Linked DNA regions of Homo sapiens: regions 1 and 2 are each linked to region 3. The links are contacts of gene promoters, found by promoter capture Hi-C in human tissues and cell types (Jung and others, 2019). All regions are on one chromosome and are shown on one strand. The core of a region is centred on a gene start or on the middle of the fragment in contact, and the rest is flanking DNA. Distances in the headings are between cores, read along the strand shown.

Region 1 (3,649 bases), core at 330-2,829, 71 kb before region 3:
AAGCCAGCCACTAGGCAGTTTACCTTATCTAATCTAATTAGCCCATCTAATTCCTGATGGGAATTTCAGTAACGTACTTCACCAAAAAGTATTGACAGCCTGGGCAACCTGGTGAAACCCCATCTCTTAAAAAAAAAAGTAAAAAATTAGTTGGGTGTGGTGGCGTGCACCTGTAGTCCCAGCTACTCGGGAGGCTGAGGCAGGAGAATTGCGTGAACCCGGGAGGTGGAGGTTGCAGTGAGCCCAGATCATGCCACGGCACTGCACCCTGGGCAACAGTGTGAGACTGTGTCTCCAGAAAAAAAAGTACTGGGGCATCTGACAATTCTAGGTATGCCTGAGCAAGTAATGTACATATAATATTATCATGTAAGTCATGGCAAAAAAGAGGAGGAGTCCCTCTGCCATCAGAAATGTCCATCTACATGCCCCATGGGCTTCCTTTAACATTAAACCTGTGTCAGCAGAATCTGCTTGAGAGATGACAGGGAGGTGAGAGGGGATGGTGACTAAGATCTGCATTTCATAGTGTCATCCCCTGGGGGGAAGAGAGGCACACATCTCTCAGTTGGTAGACTTCCATTAGACTTAGGAAAGAGTATGGATTTACAGAAACTAGGCACCTACAAGTAGAAGAGACCACCACCCCTCCAACTCACATGCAGACAGTGATAAGTCTGGAGGTGGGCTGAAGCAGATGTGGGTGCCTCCTGACCTCAGTAAACCGGCTCTCAGAGAGAGAAGGCCCACGATTTCTGAATGTAGAAATGAATGAGTGGTTGCCTACCAGCAAGATGAGCAGGATGCTGGGGATGCTTCTGAGCAACTGGAACAGGACTACTAAGCTGGCAGGAAGGGCGGGCTGCCCAGCAGAGGTGACATCATCCAGTTCCTCATAGCTGCTCTCTTCCCAGAAGAACCAAAGTTCCAGGACACGGTGCCCATACCTACTCATGAGCTCTGGATACAACAGAAAGAACCTGAGCAGGAGCGGATGGTGAGTATAGACTAGCTGCAGGTCTGGGATGCCTTCTAGGAATTTTCTGATTGCACTGACCATAGTCTGGAGGCAAAACAAAGAAAGGAGGTAAATACACCTTGCAGAGGACCCAAGAGACCCCAACATGGCCAAGAGATGACTAGGAAAAATGTACTGTCATCTCAGTATTCCAGGACACCTTGGCTAGCTCATCCCAAGGCACTTTAGTGAGAAAATACCACTGTACTTACCTTATAACAGAAGTTATCAACTAGGGGTGATTTTGTCCCCATGGGACATTTGGTAAAGTCTGGAGACATTTTTTACTATCTTGATTGGGGGAATGCTATTGGGATCTAGTAGGGAGAGAGTGGGGATGCTGCTAAATATCCTACAAAGCTTATCACACAAGAATGATCTGGTGCAAAATATTAATAGTGCCGAGGTCAAGAAACCCAGCTTGATGATGGTACCACAGTGGGTTGTAATTGTCAGTGTGCATGTCTACTTCCCACACTAGACTGAAAGCTGCTTGAGGGTAGGGACTGTGGCAGATTAATCTGTGCACTTAGCATAGGGCCTGGCACAGAAGGGGTGAAGGGGAGATATGTTGAATAATTTCTTTTTTTTTTTCTGAGACAGAGTTTCGCTCCTGTTGCCCAGGCTGGAGTGCAATGGCATGATCTCGGCTCACCGCAACCTCTGCCTCCCGGGTTCAAGTGATTCTCCTGCCTCAGCCTCCTGAGTAGCTGGGATTACAGGCATGTGCCACCATGCCCGGCTAATTTTGTATTTTTAGTAGAGACGGAGTTCCTCCATGTTGGTCAGGCTGGTTTCAAACCCCTGACCTCAGGTGATCTGCCCGCCTTGGCCTCCTAAAGTGCTGGGATTACAGGTGTGAGCCACCGTGCCCGGCCTTGTTGAATAATTTCTTACTCCTCACAAACCTACCTCTTCCCATTGCATTCCCATAACAATGTTCAAATTTCTTAGTATGAGGCTGGGCGTGGGGGCTCATGCCTGTAATCCCAGCACTTTGGGAGGCTGAGGTGGGCGGATCACCTGAGGTCGGGAGTTTGAGACCAGCCTGGCCAACATGGAGAAACTCCGTCTCTACTAAAAATAAAAAATTTGCCGGGCATAATGGCACATGCCTGTAATCCCAGCTACTTGGGAGGCTGAGGCAGGAGACTCACTTGAACCCGGGAGGCAGAGGTTGTGGTGAGCCAAGATCACGCCATTGCACTCTAGCCTGGGTAACAAGAGTGAAACTCCATCTCAAAAAAAAAAAAATTCCTTAATATGCTATTATATGGGTTTTACAGTTTTGGCTCATTTAGGTCTTTCACTCATTGTGAGTTCATTTTTGTGTATGATATGAGTTAAGAGTCCAACTTCATTCTTTTGCATGTGTATATCTAGTTGTTCCTGAAAATTTTCTGAAAAGACAAATCTTCCCCCATTGAATTATCTTGGCATCCTCATCAAAAATTGACCATAAATGTATGGGTTTACTTCTGGACTCTCAATTCTATTTCATTGATCTATATGTCTACTCCTATGTCAGTACCACACTATCCTGATTACTATAGTTTTTTGCTAAGTTCCAAAATAAAAAAGGTATGAGTCTTCCAACTTTGTTCTTTTTTTTCAAGATTGTTTTGACTATTTTGCATTTCCATATGAATTTTAGGTTCAGCTTATTCATTTTTGCAAAAAAGTACAATTGGGATTTTGATACAGATTGCATTGAATCTACCGATCAATTTGGAGAGCACTGCCATCTTAAACTATTAAGTCTTCCAATTCATGAATGCAGTCTGTTAATTTAGATTTTTAATTAAGAAAAAAACTAGAGAAAAACAGTAATGTTTTGAAATTTTCACTATATAAGTTGATATGATTTGGATTTGTGTCCCCGCCCAAATCTCATGTCCAAATTATAATCCTCAGTGTTGGAGGAGGAGCCTGGTGGGAGGTGACTGGATCATGGGGGTGGACCTCCCCGTTGCTGTTCTTGTGATACTGAGTGAATTCTCATGAGCTCTGGTTGTTTTAAAGTTTGTAGCACCTCCCTTTTCACTCTCTTCCTCCTTCTCCAGCCATATAAGATATGCCAGCTTCCCCTTTGCTTTCTGCCATGACTGTAAGATTCCTGAGACCTCCTCAGCCATGCTTCCTGTATAGCCTGTGAAACTGTGAGTCACATAAATCTCTTGTCTTTATAAATTACTCAGTCTCTGGTAGTTCTTTATAAGAATGCGAGAACTGACTAACACAAAGTCCTTATACTTTGTTAAGTTATATTCCCAAGTATTTAATTTCTTGATGCTATTGTAAATGGAATTGTTCCCTTAATTTCATTTTTTTTTTTTTTTTGGGAGACAGGGTCTCACTATGTCACCCAGACTGGAATGCAGTGGCGCAATCTCAGCTCACAGCTCACTGCAACCTCCGCCTCCAGGATTCAAGCAATTCTCCTGCCTCAGCCTCCCGAGTAGCTGGGACTACAGGCGCATGCCGCCACGCCCAGCTAATTTTTTGTATTTTAGTAGAGACAGGGTTTCACCATGTTGCCCAGGCTGCTCTCAAACTCCTGAGCTCAGTCAATCCGCCCGCCTCGGCCTCCCAAAGTGCTAGGATTACAGGCGTGAGCAACTGCGCCCGGCC
Region 2 (3,654 bases), core at 17-2,516, 89 kb before region 3:
CAATTATAGGGCAGTCACTGTGAGGCTAAGACAGGCTCCTCAGCAATACCCTCCCATAAGCAGGGTAGGCCCAGCACCTTCTACAGGGGGAGTCATGAGCTTCTCAGGTTGGGTTCCCCTTCCCAGGGACTGTTGAGGACAGACAGTCAAAAACTACCAGAGAGACAAATACAGGATTCCACTTACATGAGGTCCCTACAGTAGTCAAATTCATAGAGATAGCAAGTAAAATGGTAGATGCCAGGGGCTGGGGGAGGGGACTGGGGAATTGTTTAATGGGTACAGAGTTTCAGTTTGGGAAGATGAAAAGATCTAGAGATGGATGATGGTGAAAGTTGCACAACAATGTGAATGTACTTAATGCCACTGACCCATATACTTAAAATGATTAAAATACTAAATTGTATGTTATATATAGTTTACTACAATTAAAACAAGGCCAGGTGCAGTGACTCACACCTGTAATCCTAGCACTTTGTGAGGCCAAAGCCAGAGGATTGCTTGAGCCCAGGAGGTCAAGACCAGCCTGGACAACATAGTGAGATATCATCTCTACGAAAGTATTTTATTTTTTATTTATTTATTTTTTGAGATGGAGTCTTGCTCTGTCACCCAGGCTGGAGTGCACTGGCATGATCTTGGCTCACTGCAACCTCCACCTCCCGGGTTCAAGTGATTCTCCTGCCTTGGCCTCCCAAGTAGCTGGGATTACAGGTGCGCGCCACCACGCCCGGCTAATTTTTTTGTATTTTTAGTAGAGATGAGGTTTCACCCTGTTGGCCAGGCTGGCCTCAAATTCCTGACAAGTGATCCGCCCGTCTTGGCTCCCAAAGTGCTGAGATTACAGGCATGAGCCACTGCGCCTGGCCTTACTACCAATACAAAAGTATTTTAAAATTAGCTGGGCATGGTGGTGTATACCCGTAGTCCCAGCTATTCAGGAGGTTGAGATGGGAGGATCACTTAAGCTCAGCAGGTTAAGGTGGCAGTGAGCCATGATCATGCCACTGTACTCTAGCTTGGGCGACAGCAAGACCCTATCTCAAAAATAAAAATAAACAGTTGCCAGAGGCAGAGTTGAATGTCACAGGCCAGGGAGACACCTAGGCTCTTGGGCATGAGAGGCGAATGGTGAAAGTGCTATACAATACTTCACTGGTGGCTGGGCACGTTGGCTCACACCTGTAATCCCAGCACTTTGGGAGGCCGAGGTGGGCAGATCACCTAAGGTTGGGAGTTTGAGACCAGCCTGGCCAACATGGTGAAACCCTGTCTCTACTAAAAATACAAAAATTAGCCAGGCATGGTGGCACACACCTGTAATCCCAACTACTCAGGAAGCTGAGGCAGAAGAATCGCTTAAACCCAGGAGGTGGAGGTTGCAGTGAGCTGGGATCATACCACTGCACTGCAGCCTGGGTGACAGAGCAAGACTATGTCTCAAAAAAAACAAAACAAAACCCACAAACCTCACTGGCACCCCACCCTAGTGTTTAGGCTATTGGTTTGAAGAAGGCTTTTTCATCACTCAAGGCCCAGTTCAAATGCTACCTCTCCTGTGCAGCCTTCCAATACAGGTTGAGGCTGGGCACGCCTGTAATCCCAGCACTTTGGGATGCCGAGGCAGGTGGATCACTTGAGGTCACGAGTTCGAGACCAGCCTGGCCAACATGGTGAAACCTCATGTCTACTAAAAATACAAAATTAGCCAGGCATTGTGGTGCGTACCTGTAGTCCCAGGTACTTGGGAGGCTGAGGCAGGAGAATCACTTAACTCAGGAGGCAGAGGTTGCAGTGAGCTGGGATTGCACCACTGCACTCCAGCCTGGGTGACAGAGCGAGACTCCATCTCAAAAACAAACAAAAAAACAAATACTGGTTGAGTATCTGTAATTAAAAATTTGAAATCTGAAATATCCCCATATCCAAAACTTTTGAGCACCAACATGATGCTCAAAGCAGATGCTCATTGGGCATTTCGGATTTTGGACTTTTGTATTAGGAATGCTCAACTGCTAATAGGTCATTTTGGTATTAGATGTAGTTATTTGTGTTTCCTATAATCTGTGAGTGCCTAAATGGCTGGGATCATGTAATGTTAATTTCTGTGGTTTTCATCCATTCAACAAACATTCCCAGATGCCAACTTTGTGCCAAGCTCTGTGCTGGGTATTGGGAAATCATTCCCCCCACACCTCCTGTTCTGAATCTTAAAACAGGAACATCAGCGCTTTTAGAAACATTAGGGAGAAAGCATTTCCCTAACTGGCCCTCCTCACCCAAGGAAGGTTTTATCTAGCAGGCAAGATACTAGCTTAAGATCTACTGTGCCATCAGGGCAGGATTAAGGTATTAAAGATTATGCTCCCATGAACTTAAACTCTTAAGATCCTGGCCAGCTGGCTAAGTGTCCATAATGCAAACACAGTTTTTCCCGCCTGTGGACCCCTGGTCTGGCAAGAAGGAGGGTGTTTTAAAAAGCTCATTTTGGACAGATATGATTAAGCAAGTATAATAAAATGTTATTAGTAGAATCTAGGTGTTGGGTGTATGAATGTTCACTGTAAAACTCTCTCATTGCTGTATGTTTGAAAAACTGCAGGAAAAAAAAAGCCCATTCTGTTCCAGAGTCCCAGCCAATATTCTACTATGATGTTTACCAGCAATAAAGCTTATGTTTTGGTTCTCATCTGATTCCTGCATTCTAAATTAGCTTTAAACCCACAAGGGGAAGGACACACAAAGATTAACCAGACCCAGACTCTGCCCTTGAGTATATCACAGCCTGGTTGGGGGAATAGTGATATGAAAATGGAAACTTGAAACAGAGAGCTAAGTGCTATAATAGGATAGATGTTTGATCCCTAAAGAGCACAGAGCCTTGTGCAAGGATGTGCCACAGGACAAGACTCAACAACCGCTAACTCAGCATAGGGCCCACTCCTGGGACATCTTCCTGGGGCCCCCAGTATCCTTCATAGGCCATGACATTGGGTCAGGGCTCGGGATATGATGGCTACATAAACACTGATCTACAAGTGTCTCCTAAGCCATAAAACACAAACCCCTTGGAGGTAGACATGCTTTTGCTTGCTCTGGATCCCCTCCTTCTTCTGGTAGCAGTTTTCCCATGGGGAACCATCCCTCTCTTAGGACCAGTCCACCTGGGCTATGGAGAGTTGACCACATGCTCTGGCCTCCAGGAGAGGGCACTGACCCAAGCCAGGCCAATCAGGGCATCCCATGCCCCAGCCATGGTGACTGGCATATTACCCAAGCCAGCCTAATGAGACTCAATTCTGGGAACTATGAGGAAAGAGAAATCTTTTTTCCATAGAGGATATAAGCTAGGAGCTACTGCTGGTCATCCTACTATCTCATAAAAATAAAGCTGACAGTGAGGAATGCAAAGCCAATAGATGGAAAGAGTCTGATGACCTTCTCTGAGCTTCTGGGATCCAGCTGTGCCTGAAGCCAGTATTGACCCCAGGACTTCTCAGTTATAAGCCAAATTGAGTTTTGTTTCTGTCACTGTAGCTTTAAAAGTCTCACCCAGGCAGGGAATAGTGGCTTATGCCTGTAATCCTAGCACTTCTGGAGGCCAAGGTAAGAGGATCACTTGAGGCCAGGAGTTCGAGACCAGCCTGGAAATAT
Region 3 (3,634 bases), core at 982-3,481:
ACTTGACTACAAACATGTTCATTCTTCTAAGTTCTAACATGTTCTCTTATTTCTCCCCGCTGCACTGTCTTATTCATCTCTGATTTACTGTCCAAGAAAAGCAGCCTCAGAATTTCCATCCTTAATGAAAATTCAGAGGTTATTAGCTAGTTTACGAGTTCCCAGAGCACAGTGTGGGAATTCCTAAGGGTGCCTAAAACACTTCCCAGAGGTCCACAAGAACAAAAATATTTTCATATAATATTAAAATGTTCTTAGTCTTCCTCATTTTTTTTTAAATTTTTTCCATGTTGGCCAGGCTGGTCTTGAACTTCTGGCCTCGTGATCCAACCACCTCGGCCTCCCAAAGTGCTGGGATTACAGGTGTGAGCCACCGGACCCGGCCCAGTCTTTCTCATTCTTATTCTCCCACAAGTGTACAGTGGAGTTTTTGAGACTATATGACATGATAGCACAACAGACTGAATGCAGAAATAGATAAAAATCCAGCTGTTTGGCCGGGTGTGGTGGCTCACGTCTTTAATCCCAACACTTTGGGAGGCTGAGGCAGGCAGATCACCTGAGGTTGGGAGTTCAACACCAACCTGACCAACATGGAGAAACCCCGTCTATACTAAAAATACAAAATTAGCTGGGCGTAGTGACGCATGCATGTAATCCCAGCTACTCGGAAGGCTGAGGCAGGAGAATCGCTTGAACCCGGGAGGCGGAGGTTGCGGTGAGCTGAGATTGCGCCATTGCACTCCAGCCTGGGCAACAAGAGTGAAACTCCATCTCAAAAAAAAAAAAAAAAAGAAAGAAAGAAATCAAAATATTTGAGAACGCAGCCAGGCACGGTGGCTCACAGATGCAATCCCAACACTTTGGACTTTGGGAGGTCAAGGCAGGAGAATTGCTTGAGACTAGGAGTTCAAGACCAGCCTGGGCAACACAGGGAGACCCCCGGGACCGTTTCTACAAAAAAAAAAAAAAAAAAAAAAAAAATTGAGAACTGCTGATCTAGCCAATCCACCCACTCACGAATTCCCCTCCCATGAATTGGAGAGAAACTTGACCTCCCAAAGTCTTCTTGGATGCCTCCATGGACAAGAAAACTCACTGCAGGTCGGGCACCGTGGCTCACGCCTATAATCCCAGCACTATGGGAAGCCGAGGCGGGTGGATCACCTGAGGTCAAGAGTTCGAGACCAGCCTGGCCAACATGATGAAACTCCGTCTCTACTAAAAATAGAGAAATTAGCCGAGCGTGGTGGCGGGAGCCTGTAATCCCAGCTACTGGGTAGGTTGAGGCAGGAGAATCGCTTGAACCCAGGAAACAGAGGTTGCAGTGAGCGGAGATGGCGCCATTGCACTCCGGCCTGGGTGTCAGAGCGAGACTCCGTCTCGAAACAAACAAAACCACTTCATTGCAAACGCGGTAGGCAATGAGGACCCAGGCAGCCCGCTTTGGCCAGCTCTGCCCAAGGAACAGTCTTCCCGTTCACCCCCACTTCTGCCCGGCTGTAACCTGTCACTCCTGTCCCCTCGGAGCCCAGACTGCCCCTCCTCCGATTCACACCCCGACAGCTGAAGGGAATGAGGAGCGGCCGCCGCATGCGCCCCTGGCCCGCAGGTGAGTGGAGGCTGAAATGGCGGGAGGCTGAAATGGCGGGAGCCTGAGCTAAGGCCGAATCCCCGGGAAATGGAGGCAGGGGCAGCAAAGGGAAGGAGCCAGAAGGCGGAAGGCGGGAAGGTGTGTCCCTGAGACTGGGTGAGGTCCCGGGGGATCCGGATTTCCGTCCTTTCAGGCGCAGAGCCAGTGGACCGGGCTCCACGGAGGCCCGCAGGCCGGCCTGGGGCTGAGGGGCCCGAGAGGCCGCTGCGGCCGGGTCCGGGACGGGCTGACAGGGAGGAGAGTGAACACAGCGCGGGGGCCCGGTTTCGCGTCGGGTTCACCGGAGCGGGTCTGGCAAGGGCCTGGCCGCGTTTGCTGAGGGAAATGGCCAAACCCAGGTCTTCTGAAGAAAAGGTTCCGCCCGCACCGACACGCCGGGGTCCGGCAGCAGCTCCAGCGCGCAGGCCAGGCACAGGCGGGGGGTCACGGGCAGCAGCCAGCGCGGGTCGTGCCGGTAATGGGCCCTCTCGAATAGAAGCGCCGCCTCTTCCTCTCTCCTGGGCCCGGGAGTGCCCGCCGTCGCCGCCTGCCTCACAGCCATCTCCTCGCTTGCCCTCAGCTGAGGCGGCACTCTTTCCCGCGCAGACTGCACGCATGCGCACTTGGAGGACGGACCTGCGTCGGTGTGGAATGCGCCTGCGCGGACCCAGGGCGCTGCAGTCTCAGACGAGCAGCAGCCACTGAGGGCAAGTGGTGGACGCAAGTGCTCTGGATCGTGTCTAGCTAAGCCAAAAGCGGTTTGTGCTTAGAACCCTGCAGGAATGTCTTTACCACATCCAAAGTTGAAAAGCAATTATAAAGTAGGGGGCATTTGCCTTGAAAAAGGAAGGAAAGGAAGCTATTTCTACTGTTTTTTAAAAATGAAGGCCGGGCATGGTGGCTCACGCCTGTAATCCCAGCACTTTGGGAAGCCGAGGTGGGCGGATCACGAGATCTGGAGATCAAGACCATCTTACCCAACATGGTGAAACCCCGTCTCTACTAAAATACAAAAAATTAGCTGGGTGTGGTGGCAAGTGCCTGTAATCCCAGCTACTTGGGAGGCTTGAGGCAGGGGAATCACTTGAACCTGGGAGGCGGAGGTTGCAGTGAGCTGAGATTGTGCCACTGCACTCCAGCCTGGCGACAGAGCAAGACTCTATCTCAAAAAAAAAAAAAAAAAGGAAAATAAGCGATCCCAAGGATTCGCATCTAAAAGCAATTAGAGGCTGGGTGAGTTGGCTCATGCCTGTAATCACAGCACTTTGGGAGGGAGGCTGAGGCAGGAGAATCACTTGAACCTGGGAGGTGGAGGTTGCAGTGAGCCAAGATCGCACCACTGCACTCCAGCCTGGGTGACAGAGGAAGACTCCATCTTAAAAATAAATAAATAAATCAGAAGCTTAAGACCAAAAAATAAAAGTAAAAAAACAAAACAAAACACCAAAGACAGAGAGAAAGAAGTTCAAGACCAGCCTGAGCAACAGGGCGAAACCCCTCCTCTACTAAAAATACAAAAATTAGCTGGGTGTGGTGGCTCATGACTGTAATCCCAGCTACTCGGGAGGCTGAGGCAGCAGAATCGCTTGAACCCAGGAGGCGGAGGTTACAGTGAGCGGAGATCAAGCCACTGAACTCCAGCTTGGGCCACAGACCTACACTCCATCTCAAAAAAAAAAAAAAAAGCGTCCCATGCAGAGGACCACCCCTCCCCATAAGCAGCTGAGGCTTTTGGAGTGTCCTGCCTCAATCAGGATTAGCTTGGAGACAGAGCAGGATAGAACCTCAGTGGACTCCACTGTGAGGAGCTGGGGGGCAGGTGTTTCGGAGAGGACACTGGGTTGACCCACATTCCCTAAACCACAACCACAGAGTGGAAGGGGCTTCTACCCCACCCACAAAGTATCCCAAACCCCGAAAGGGGGCACTTGGAAAATGTGCCAGAGAAATCAGAACACCACAGGGCCCAAATGACCAATTTATTAGAGGCTTTGCAGGGAT

What was found. The method cuts DNA at HindIII sites, captures the fragments that hold promoters and counts their contacts. A contact is called where the count stands out against the background at its distance.
Region 1: a fragment that was not itself captured here is called in contact with the fragment with the promoter of MEI1 in region 3 in 2 of the 25 tissues and cell types used here (mesenchymal stem cells and spleen).
Region 2: a fragment that was not itself captured here is called in contact with the fragment with the promoter of MEI1 in region 3 in 8 of the 25 tissues and cell types used here (H1 embryonic stem cells, dorsolateral prefrontal cortex, liver and 5 more).

Annotation. Positions count from the first base shown.
Region 1 is chr22:41,768,100-41,771,748 of GRCh38, reverse strand. MEI1 (meiotic double-stranded break formation protein 1) reads right to left here. Exons shown (of 31, transcript NM_152513.4): 20 at 788-1,063. Among named protein-coding and RNA genes, the nearest start is that of CCDC134, 31 kb to the left of the region's middle. The HindIII fragment of the contact is 6,757 bases long and covers 1-3,649 here.
Region 2 is chr22:41,786,247-41,789,900 of GRCh38, reverse strand. All of the region lies in intron 26 of MEI1 (meiotic double-stranded break formation protein 1), which reads right to left. Among named protein-coding and RNA genes, the nearest start is that of CCDC134, 13 kb to the left of the region's middle. The HindIII fragment of the contact is 8,169 bases long and covers 1-3,654 here.
Region 3 is chr22:41,698,100-41,701,733 of GRCh38, reverse strand. MEI1 (meiotic double-stranded break formation protein 1) reads right to left here and starts at 2,231. Exons shown (of 31, transcript NM_152513.4): 1 at 2,022-2,231. The coding sequence starts at 2,195. It also overlaps the pseudogene C22orf46P. RefSeq lists a silencer at 2,159-2,258. The HindIII fragment of the contact is 9,130 bases long and covers 1-3,343 here.